Linked DNA regions of Homo sapiens: region 1 is linked to region 2. Evidence: promoter capture Hi-C in human tissues and cell types (Jung and others, 2019). All regions are on one chromosome and are shown on one strand. The core of a region is centred on a gene start or on the middle of the fragment in contact, and the rest is flanking DNA. Distances in the headings are between cores, read along the strand shown. Region 1 overlaps TUT4 (terminal uridylyl transferase 4). Region 2 holds the start of ZFYVE9 (zinc finger FYVE-type containing 9).

Region 1 (5,613 bases), core at 601-3,100, 390 kb after region 2:
TGCACTCCAACTTGTGCAACAGTGTGCGACTCAGTCTCAAAAAAAGGAAGAAAACATGAAAGATATTGAAGAAAATAATTATGTCCCACTTTCGATATTTCATTCTATGTAGACGGATACCCGTTATCATAACATCCCTGACCTCTTTCCACTCCCCTCATTCATTCCTTGCCTAAGGAGAAGAGGTAACTTACTTCATCAGTGAGTTTGGGAAAATAATCCAGACAAAACTTAGCCCCGTCCCCTCTCCTTCCCATTCTGTTCCATCATACTCTAACATTTACAGGTGTAAGGCTCACATAGGGCCTGCAGTTGTTCAGCTCTGCCAGTTCCTGAGGGCTAAGTCTGCCTAATTCTGGCACTCGGTATCAGTAAACCAGTTGAAAGTATAAGCCGCCTTCTCCAAACTGAACGTGATCAAAAATAAAATTATAAAAACTAAATAAAAATAAAATTATCTTCTGGTCTCCATATGCTTCCTTCGTTTCACCCAATTTGTTGAAAATTCAGGAAAGCAAAAGGGGTGCTATTTATTGGACCCCCGTAAACTCCAACCAGAAGTAAATTTTATAAAACTGCATATTTGAAATATCTTTATTGTATCTTCACACCTCATTTAGTTAGGTATAAAATTCTAGGTTAGGGCCAGGCACGGTGCTTCATGCCTGCAATCCCAGCACTTTGGTAGATTGAGGCGGGAGGATCATTTGAGTTCAGAAGTTCAAAGCCAGCTCAGGCAACATGGCAAAACCCTGTCTCTACAAAAAAAAAAAAAACAAACAAAAATCAGCCAAATGTGGTGGCGCATGCCTGTGGTCCCAGCTACTTGGGAGGCTGAGGTGGAAGAATCACTTGAGCCCAGGAGGTCAAGGCTGCAGTGAGCCGTGATGGCACCACTGAACCCCAGGCTGGGCGACAGTGCAACACCCCGTCCCCAAAAAAATAAAATAAAATTCTAGGTTAGAAATTATTCATTCAAAATGTTTTCAATGATTTCTAGTTTCTGGGACTAGCACTGAGAAAATTATGCCATTCTTATTCTTTACCTTTTTTACTGACCTGTTTTTTTCTCTAAGAAAACTTCTAGGATGATCTCTTTGCTTTGGTATTCTGAAATTTCCAAGCAATAAGCCTGCTGTAGATATCTCCTCATTCATCTTGTTGCATAGTCATCTTGTTGCATAGTCAGCTGGCTCTGTTCATCAGTAATTCACATCATTCACTTCTGTAAAATTTTTTTCTTCTATCTACTATAAATTCCTCCTTTTCATCTTTTCTGTTCTCTTTCTATTGCTCCTATTAATTAGACTTGGGCCTCCTAAATTGATTCTCCAATTTTCTTATCTTTTCTCTCCATTTTTCCACCTTTCTTTTTGTTCTCCTTCCTAGGTGATTTCCTCAACTCTATCTTCCAACTCTTCTATCATATTTTTATTTCTAAGAACTCTCTCTAATTATTCCTTTTCACAGCACTCTGATCTTGTTTCATAGTTATAATCTCATATTTCTAAAGACCACTAATATTCAGAACACTAAAATTCTTTCTCAAACTTTTTTCTGCCCTCTGTATTTTTTGTTCTCTGGCATTTTGTTCCCTGGGCAATACTGTTCATTTTCTTCTCTACCAAGCGTACCAACATATGCATAATAGGAGTCACAGAAAGAAGAAAGAGAAGGGTGTAGAAAAAATATTTGAAGAAACAATGGTCAGAAACTTCCCCAATCTGATGAAAGACACAAGTATATACCTCCACAAAGCTCAATAAACTTTAAGCAGCGTAAACTCAAAGAAATCCACACTGAGACAGAGTCAAATTGTCAAAACCAAAGAGAACTTTGAAAGAAGCAAGAAAATTTAACTCATCAAACAAAAGTTAACAGCTGATTGCCCATAAGAAACCATGGAAATGAGAAGGCAATGCAGTGACATATTTGAAGTCCTAAAAGAAAAAAGCTGTGAACTAAGAATTCTCTAGCCAGTAAAACCGCCTTTCAAGAATGAAGGAGAAATTATATTTCCAGATAAACAAAAAGTGAGAAAGTTCATTCTGCCGTACAAGTGCTAAAAGAAATTCTTAATGCTGAGATGAAAAGACATTAGACAATAATTCAAATCCATAACAAGAAATAAAGAACACTAGTAAAAATAACTACATAGGTAAATATAAAAGCCAATGTTATTGTAATTTTGGTAACTCTTGGGTTTTTCCCTTTTACATGATTTAAAAGACAAATGCATAAAAATTCATTACAAACCTCTGTTAATAGGCACAAACTATATAAAGATGTAATCTGTGACAATAAAAATATAAAGGAGGAGAGAAAGATGAGTAGGAGCAGAGTATTTGCGTACTATTTAAACTAAGCTGGCATTATTCAAACTAGGTTGTTATAAATTTAAGATGTTAATTACATCATTATCCCCAAGGCATCCACTAAGAAAGTAACACACACACACAAAATCAAAACAGGATTATAATTCTATAAAAAATCAACTAAATACATAAAAAGGCAGCATTAGAGGAACAAAAGGCATAAAAAACATATGGAAAAGAAAGAGCTAAATGGCAGAAGTAAATCCATCCTTACCAGTAATTACTTTAAATGTAAATGAATTAAACTTTCCAATTAAAAAGAGAGATTGGCCAGGCGTGGTGGCTCACGCCTGTAATCCCAGCACTTTGGGAGGCCGAGGTAGGTGGATTACCTGAGATCAGGAGTTCACAACCAGCCTGGAGAACATGGTGAAACCCTGTCTCTACTAAAAATACGAAAAAATAAGAGGGCGTGGTGGTGGGTGCTTGTAATCCCAGCTACTTGGGAGGCTGAGGCAGGAGAATCACTTGAACCCAGGAGGTGGAGGTTGCAGTGAGCCGAGACTGTGCCACTGCACTCCAGCCTGGGCAACAAGAGTTTCGTCTCAAAAAAGTAACATTAAATTAAATTTTAAAAAATAGGCCGGGCGCGGTGGCTCACGCCTGTAATCCCAACACTTTGGGAGGCCAAGGCAGGCGGATCATGAGGTCAGGAGATCGAGACCACCCTGGCTAACACGGTGAAACCCCGTCTCTACTAACAAAAAATTAGCCGGGCATGGTGGCGTGCGCCCATAGTCCCAGCTACTTGGGAGGCTGAGGCAGGATAATCGCTTGAACCCAGGAGGCGGAGGTTGCAGTGGGCCGAGATTGTGCCACTGCACTCCAGCAGCCTGGGCAATAATAGTGAAACTCCATCTCAAAATAAATAAATAAATAAAAATTAAAAAAAAGAGAGAGATTGGCAAATTGGAAAACACAATCTATCATCTATCTACAAGATTCACTTTAGATACAAAGAGCAAAGGCGTTATAAGAAAAAATGAAAACAGATACTCCATGCAAAGAGTAACAAAGAGAGAGCTGGGGCTAAATTATTACCAGATAAAATAACACTTTAAGTCAAAAAAGGTTACAAAACACAAAGATAGATATTATATATTGATAAAAGGTTCAATCCAGCAAGGACATATAACAGTTATAAACATATGCACCTAACAACAGTGACCTAAAATACAGGAAACAAAAGTTAACACAATTGAAAAGAGAAATTGTTCTATAATCATACTTAGGAGACTTCAATACCCCACTTTTCAATAACAGAACAACCAGACAGAAAATCAAAAAGGAAACAGAGGATTTGTGTAACACTATAAACTAATTTGACTGGCTCAGCGCGGTGGCTCATGCCTGTAATCTCAGCACTTCGAGAGGCCAGGGCAGGTGGATCACCTGAGGTCAGGAACTCAAGACCAGCCTGGCCAACATGGCGAAATCCCATCTCTACTAAAAATACAAAAATTAGCCAGGCATGGTGGCGCGTGCCTGTAATCCCAGCTACTCAGGAGGCTGAAGCAGGAAGATCGCTTGAACCGAGAAGGCAGTTTGCTGTGAGCTGAGATCGGGCCACTGCACTCCAGTCTGGGCAACAAGAGCAAAACTGTCTCAAAAATGAATAAATAAATAAATAAACAAACAAACTAATTAGACTGGCTGGGCATGGCGGCTCATGCCTATAATCTCAGCACTTTGGGAGACCAAAGGGGGCAGATCACTTGAGGTCAGGAGTTCAAGAAAAGCCTGGGCAACATGGTGAAACCCCGTCTCTACTAAAAATACAAAAATTAGCCGGGTGTGGTGGCCCACACCCATAGTCCCAGCTGCTTGGGAAGCTGAGGCACAAGAACCGCTTGAATCCAGGAGGTGGAGGTTGCAGTGAGCCAAGACTGCATCGCTGCACTCCAACCTGAGCGAAAGAGCAAGACTCCATCTCAAAAAAATAAAATAAAATAATTAGACCTAACAGATATATAAAGACTCTATCCAACATCAGCAGAATATACATTCTATCCCCAATGGGCATGTAACATGAAAGACAAATAAATGCTCTTGTTTTGGCAACTGAGAAAAAAAAAGGGAGCTGGGTGCGGTGGTTCATGCCTGTAATCACAGCACTTTTGGAGGACAAGCTGGGAGGACCGCTTGAGTCCAGGAGTTTTAGACCAGCCTAGGCAACACAGGAGACTCCATCTCTACAAAATATAAAAAATTAGCCAGGCACCTGTAGTCCCAGTCTCAGGAGGCTGAAGTGGGAGGATCACTTGCACTTGGGAGGTGAAGGCTACAGTGAGCTGCAATCATGCCACTGCACTCCAGCCTAGGCAACAGAGCAAGACTCTGTCTAAAAAAAAAAAAAGAAAAGAAAAGAAAAAAAAAAAAGAAAAATGAAAAAGAAGATTAAAAAAACATGAATGATCAAAGAATCCTATCATATCTTTCCTTACTAATATTACTTCCCTGAATTAAACATTTATTCTAAAAATGATGATGCAGAAGGAAAGGGAAAGATAGTGCAATTCATATCTCCTTTTCCTTTCATTCCTGCCTTACTTACCACCAAGTTAAAGAGAGTGTTGAAGCCAGGTAAAGTGGCTTACACCTGTAATCCCAACACTTTAGGGCACCAAGACAATTCTCCCACCTCAGCCTCCCAAAGGAATCCCGGAATTACAGATGTGAACCACCACTAGTTATACAATTTGGAGATAATTTGTACTGGGTTGCGAAGTTACAGAATCACTATTTCAATAGGGTAAGGAACACAACAGTAATCATGCCGATGAAGGGAAAGGATAAAGCCAAAAAGAGGCTTTACAGTGAAATTAGGGATAGATTAAAAAAACTAAAGAAACATTAAAAATACATATACAGATAATTCAGAAAATTTTGGTGGGAAGAATCATTTTGAATGATATGAATAGGAGCTATCAAGGAAAGTAGAGTTGAATATCACTAGAAGATAGAAATTAAGGAAATAAAGTGTCAGATAACATTCAATGTTATGCTTCCCACTGCCCAATATGGATGTCAGGAATTACACCAAAGTATCAGTGAATATAAAGGGGTGACCTACAGATTCCCAGATTGAAATGACAATGACAGATAAGAAATATAGCCAGCAGGACACCAGTCTCACAAGAGAACGAAGAATAGACAGTAGGTAGTAAACTATGGATATAATTTCCTGGCTTTGAGGAAACAGGTATGGGGGGGAAAGCAATGTTCAAGACACATTAAC
Region 2 (5,809 bases), core at 910-3,409:
AACAAGGAGAGAAAGTGTGAAGCAAGAGGAAACTGGTCTTGGGAACAAATGAATCATCTTCTTCATGTAGTAGCTATGCCCTGGGTTGCATGATTATTCATAAACAAATGCAGGTTTCCTGTGGTGGCAGTGATCTAGGCATGAAAAATACAGTGCTAATATTAGGTTACAGCGCTAATGATCTCAATCAGTTGAAGGGCCCTTTTCCCTTGACTAAACATTTTTTAGCAACAAATGACCCTTACAGCATTTTGTTAATATTGTTGAAAGGACTGTTGGGGCATCAGGTTGGGGACTGAAGGGAATCTCAGGGTCTACTTCCAGCTCTTCCTTAGGTTGGATATATTTCACATGTAAAATGGTAGCATAGGACCTAACTCATAGAATCACTGCGAGGATGAATCATGGTTTCCCTTTGAGCCCCAGTTTCTCTTGTTATAGAAAGGGCATAGTGATTTTTTTGTGACTCAGGAGTATGTGGCAAAGGCACACTTAGGATTATGCAGGAACAGCTTTCATTAAGAGAGCTACTAGGTGACATCTTCTCCATGGTGGCTGCTCAATTATTAAATGAATGATTCCTGGAGACCTTTTGTAGTTTCTATTATTTATCATCATTAGGCCATAACCTAAGGTAAGGTGAGATTGCCTTATAACATTTTTTATACATAAAAAATACTGGTTGCATGCTGCTATCTGCTGTGCAACAGAATGTCATAGGATCCAGTGTATGAGGCTCTATTCTTCCATGGAGGGGTGTTACATAAACCCATTAGTGAAATTTAGGGAAATTTCACCCAGACTAGGGAGGATGAAGAATGGAGCATCTATCTTTTGACAGAAATACAGTTACACACACACATACACACACACATACACACACACAGAGAGAGAGAGAGAGAGAGAGAGAATGAGAAACAAAAACAGAGGAGTACAAAATTGAGCCTAAGAAAAAGAACTGGAACCAATAAAAATTGTAACTAACATTTATTAAGTATCTTCTATGGGCCAGTCTCTTTATCTCCAATCTTCAACAACCAGCAAGGCAGGCAGGAGAAAACTGAAGTTCAAAAATGTTACATAACTTCCCCAGGGTCATAAAGCTATATATACATGACAGAACTGGAACTGGTAGTGTTGGTATGTGTCTGACACCAAAATCACTACACATTCTAGTATACCACTCTGTTAAAAAAGTGTATTTGGAAAATTTAGGGATCAGAGGATTTGGAGAATTTTCTTTCCCTACTTCCCCTCTGACAGTCGTGTTTGTTTTTGGTTCTGATGTTTGCACCCTAGAGGCTGACTGGGATCAAATATGGGGCATCTGTAAACAGAATGATTCCATAGCCCCCACTGTGTAATAATTTCCTTCCTTCAGAGCCTTACTAGGATTTGCCTGGGATGAGGGGTGGAAAGGTGGGAGAGAAGAGGTTGGGAGGGAGAGGATGTTAGTAAAAGATGGGTGATTCTTTGCTTACCTTTAAGTTGTTTATGAATTTCAGGACAACCCGTTGGCTATTCTCTTCTCTGGCTTGGCATATATATATATGTATGTATTTTTTTTTCATTTTTGTTTTGTGGGGGTGGTGGTTTAGGTGTTAAGGGTTTGGTTGATATCTGTAGAAAATTTCTTAATGATCTACACAGTAGATAAAAAAACAAGTTAAGGTCAAAGACAATTCCTTCGTCTGTTTTGGGAGACGAGTGTGTATGTTTGAAAAAAAGGTTTGTTCTGGGTCACTCTTCTTTCATCCAGACGCATTAAAGGAATTAGAAGGGGGTCTCCCTGCCACCCCCGAAACCGTGAGAGTCAAACGGAGATTCCCTTATATTCCTGCTCTCAGGTGCGGGTCCGAGTGACAAGAACGTTCACGTATCTTCGGGAGAGAACGAAAAGGTGCTCGGGTCTGGCGGGGGCGGGGAACGCCAGGGGTTGGTGGGAACTGAGGGGCTTCCGGTTCCCGGGAAGCGGAGTCCCGGGCCGGCCGCGGGCCGCGGGCTACGCAGGGAGCACGGGGCCCTCGCCGCCCCCAGGCCGCGCTCCTTAGCGTTCCCTGCGGCTCGTGCCCAGCGCGGCCGCCGCAGTCCCGACGCCGTAGCCGGACGTGGGGTCCAGGGGGCGCTGTGGCCCAGCGGCGCCGGCGGCAGGAGCGGCCACCCGACGCTGGAGGCTTCGCTGAGGATCCCCGCCTGCCGCACCTCGGTCGTCCCGCCGCAGCCTTGCGCCCCCGGCCCGGCTCGGCGGCGCTCCTCCGGGATCCGCGTGGCTGCCGCGGCCCGGGCGCCGATGCGGCTGGGCGGGTGCCGGGCCTTAGCAGCAGTAGCAGCCGCAGCTGCGGCTACCGCAGCTCCTACAGGAGTGGGAGGTTTCGCGGCGGCGCCTGGGGCCGCGCCGGTGCCCTCCGGAGGAGGCTTTCGGCTCAGGGACGACCCCCGTGGCCATGCTGAAGCGGAGGCGGCCGCTGCTCGAGGTGAGTGTGGCGCGGCGTGGTCCGGGGCTCGCCGGCCTCCCGCCGCCTGTGGGGGCCCTGGCGGCAGACCGCGGGCCGGGCGGACGGGGCGTCCTGCCACTGCGGTCGCCTCCCCCACCCTGCGGTCCTGGGGCCTCAGCCCTTTCTCCCCGCGTCCCCCGGGAGGCTGAAGGCCGTGGGGGGCGATTAGGCCCCGCGCCGTTGGGAAGCCCTCGCTCCGGCCTCGGTTCCGGCGCGGCCGGGTGTGTGGAGCTGGGGGCCGGCAGGAGCACGGCCGCCTTTCGGGTTTGCATGGGCCCGGGCCGAGCGCAGCCTCTTAGCCCGGGCCCTGCACGTACATCCCGGAGGGAGGCAGATGACGCCTGTTTGCAAACAAGCTTTGGCTTCCACGCGTCCCATACCGAGTCCCTCAGAATCCCGGTTGTGGCGGGGAAAGGGGGAGGAGAGGAAGGCCAGGGTGAGAATTGGGGGTGCAGAGAGTGCGGGACCAAGAGAGCCCCTGCTACTCCTGGAGTGTCATTCATGGATCTGGCTTGCTCGAGAACAACCTTTTGCGTCTTATTTGAGGTGAAATTTCATCACCTGCCGGTTGCTCATTCCTGCCTCTTTATATTATATCTTGCCTCTAAGCGTGGTCTGCCTTGGAGAAAGCCCCATCGCATCTTTGCGATGCTAAGTTTTGTAGATAAACACTCACAGTTATAAAAACGTCTTTTACAAAGGTCTGCCCCCCACACCCCGCCAGAAGAAATATTTTTATGCTTCAGTGTTCGGTACAAAAATGTTCCACTTAAAGAGATCCAGAGAATAGTTGGCAAAAGGATTTTAAGTCCTCTTTAAGTGCCAGCTACCCTAATAAATACCTGAAGGAAATGGGATACATGCTAAATTTTAGAAATAAAATGATTTGTTCTGATATTAATGTTGAAAATGCTACTGATTACAGTTTGATACCGTAAGTCAGATATTTATGTTTTGTGAGAAATGTGATTACAGGTTATTCTTGTTTTCCTGTTATGTATGTGAAAGTTATAAGACTTATAGGTACTTGCAAAACTTTTATAATCATGAAAAAATATGCTTATTGTAGAAAACTTGGGAATTATAGAAAGGTACCATGTTGGCTCTTAATAAATATTTAATAATAGGAGAAATCACCCATAATCTCACAGATTGTAAACAGTACAGGTTTATAATGGGCTCGTACTGACAGTGATTTTTAAAATTATTATTTCTGTATATTAGGTTTAAAATTATCTGACTGTTCCATTTTACATTGTCATTTGTATAAGACCTGTAAAAATATTTTACTAAATTACATTGGAACCATGTTGAATTCATCAATTAAAACAGAAGAATATGGGTAACTACCTAAAAGATCCCTGACTTAACCTTCTATGCAGCATGGGGTCTCCATCTAGGGAGAAAGTTTGGCATGGTACACGTTTTTGAAGACCTACTGTGTTAGATGCTGTAGCCTTGCATTGTTTTTGTCAGATTTTAAGTATTTCTTTTAAAAATTGGCTTCATTACCAGTTATTTGGGTAGGTTAATCTCGATTTTTAAAAGTCTAATTCAGGCAAAGTGTGATGGCTAGGCCTACTAGGGAGGCTGAATGGGGAGGACCCCTTGATCCTAGGAGTTCCAGTCCTGCTTGGGCAACGTAAGCAAGATGCCCCTCTCCGAGGCGGGTGGATCATGAGGTCAGAAGTTCAAGACCAGCCTGGTCAATATGGTGAAACCCCGTCTCTACTAAAAATACAAAAATTAGCTGGCATGGTGGTGCCCACCTGTAGCCCCAGCTACTCGGGAGGCTGAGGCACAAGAATCATTTGAACCTGGGAGGCAGACGTTGCAGTGAGCCAAGATTGGGCCACTGACTCTAGCCTGGGCAACAGAGCGAGACTCCATCTCAAAAAAAAAAAGTTGAATACAGTTCTCAGTGTGTCCCTCAAGACCACCAACATTAGAATCAGTTGAGAGTGCTTGTTATATATATAAGTATTATATGTAATATGCAGATTCTTGGTCCCTTGAATTGAAATTCTAGGGATGACGATGGCCCAAAGAACTTTATTTTTATCAGTCTCCCTGATTCTTAGACCTACTAAAGTTTGAGAATCACTGATACAGTAAGTTTAAAATTAACTAACCTTGCTGAGCCGAAGGAAGGTGTCTATTTTCTAGCAAAACTATAAGTCTTTAGTGGCAATAGTCATTTCTTTCTTTTTTTTTTTTTTTTACTTCCTTGCAGCTCCAGCTCAAAGGATGTCATTTTTCGTAGTAAATAATCTTAGAAAGAAAAGTGATATTTTGAGGGACAGCTGATCCAATCAGCAACCATTTATTGAGAGCCTCCTGTGATAGCTGTGGTGTGCTAAAAGAATACCTTGTCATTTACTTTGGCACTTAATGGACACCAATGTCATTGTCTGTAAAATGCATATACTTCAGTTATTATGCTTACCTTGCGAGGCTTTTAGGATAAATAAATCTGAAAAGGTATTATAATCTGTAAAAGATTTTTATACAATTTTGGCTTTTAAGTGCCAGGTCCTGTTATAGGTATTCCAGGAAACACAAAAATGACCAAGGGCTCTACTAAACTTGTCCTGTGGAAGCAGGATACCTTTAATTAACTGTTACAAGGTAGGTCAGACAAGTGTTGAAATTGAGTGGAACGTGCTAAATCTCTGTTTAAGGCTTCTGTGTCTCATCTTGCCGTTTAAGGACATTGATAATACTTTTTATGTATGATTATTCCTTTCTCTTCCAATTCCTGATTCAGTGTTTTCTTTAAGGAAATAATTGCTTATATTGCCTGGTGATAGTTTCCTATTAACTCTTTTAGAAAGGTAGAGTGAGTAGAGATGATAATTCCTTCCTCTGTTGCTAAGCTACCACTGTTCATTCCATTCAGTAAACTTTTATGTGGCACCTTGTAAACGTGCTAGCCACAGACTGGTTGCAAGGCACAAAGCTTGTTTAAAAGATAATTGCCTGGATTTTAGCTTAAGTTCTTATGTTCCTAAAGATATGGCGTATATATGTGTGTTTTATGGTTGTTAATTGCATAATGTGGTACAGAGTATGGAGTCAGATGTGAGCAGGAATCCTTACTACACCTCTTAAAGCGATGTGACATTTAGATTCTGAGTTTCTTATGTACTATTGGGGTAACACTACCCCTCCTAGCAAAGTAGAACAGGTTCCATGAGATAAAAGTAACCGAAAGCAATTAGCTCAGTGTTTGTCATGTAGGAGGTGCTCAATAAATGTACATTTCTTTCTTCCTTTTGGGAAAAACAAAAATCAGGCATTGGGATTTCTGCATG

The links. Contacts are between HindIII fragments. The study calls those that stand out against the background at their distance.
Region 1: a contact is called between a fragment that was not itself captured here and the fragment with the promoter of ZFYVE9 in region 2, in 1 of the 25 tissues and cell types used here (stomach).

What each region holds. Positions count from the first base shown.
Region 1 is chr1:52,533,928-52,539,540 of GRCh38, forward strand. All of the region lies in intron 1 of TUT4 (terminal uridylyl transferase 4), which reads right to left. All of the region lies in intron 1 of LOC105378723 (a long non-coding RNA gene), which reads left to right. Among named protein-coding and RNA genes, the nearest start is that of TUT4, 16 kb to the right of the region's middle. The HindIII fragment of the contact is 6,450 bases long and covers 1-5,075 here.
Region 2 is chr1:52,139,930-52,145,738 of GRCh38, forward strand. It overlaps ZFYVE9 (zinc finger FYVE-type containing 9), which reads left to right and starts at 2,160. Exons shown (of 19, transcript NM_004799.4): 1 at 2,160-2,474. LOC107984956 (collagen alpha-2(I) chain-like) reads left to right here. Exons shown (of 5, transcript XM_047439476.1): 2 at 1,264-1,360; 3 at 1,506-1,552; 4 at 1,848-2,474. RefSeq lists a silencer at 1,960-2,819. The HindIII fragment of the contact is 20,668 bases long and covers 1-4,152 here.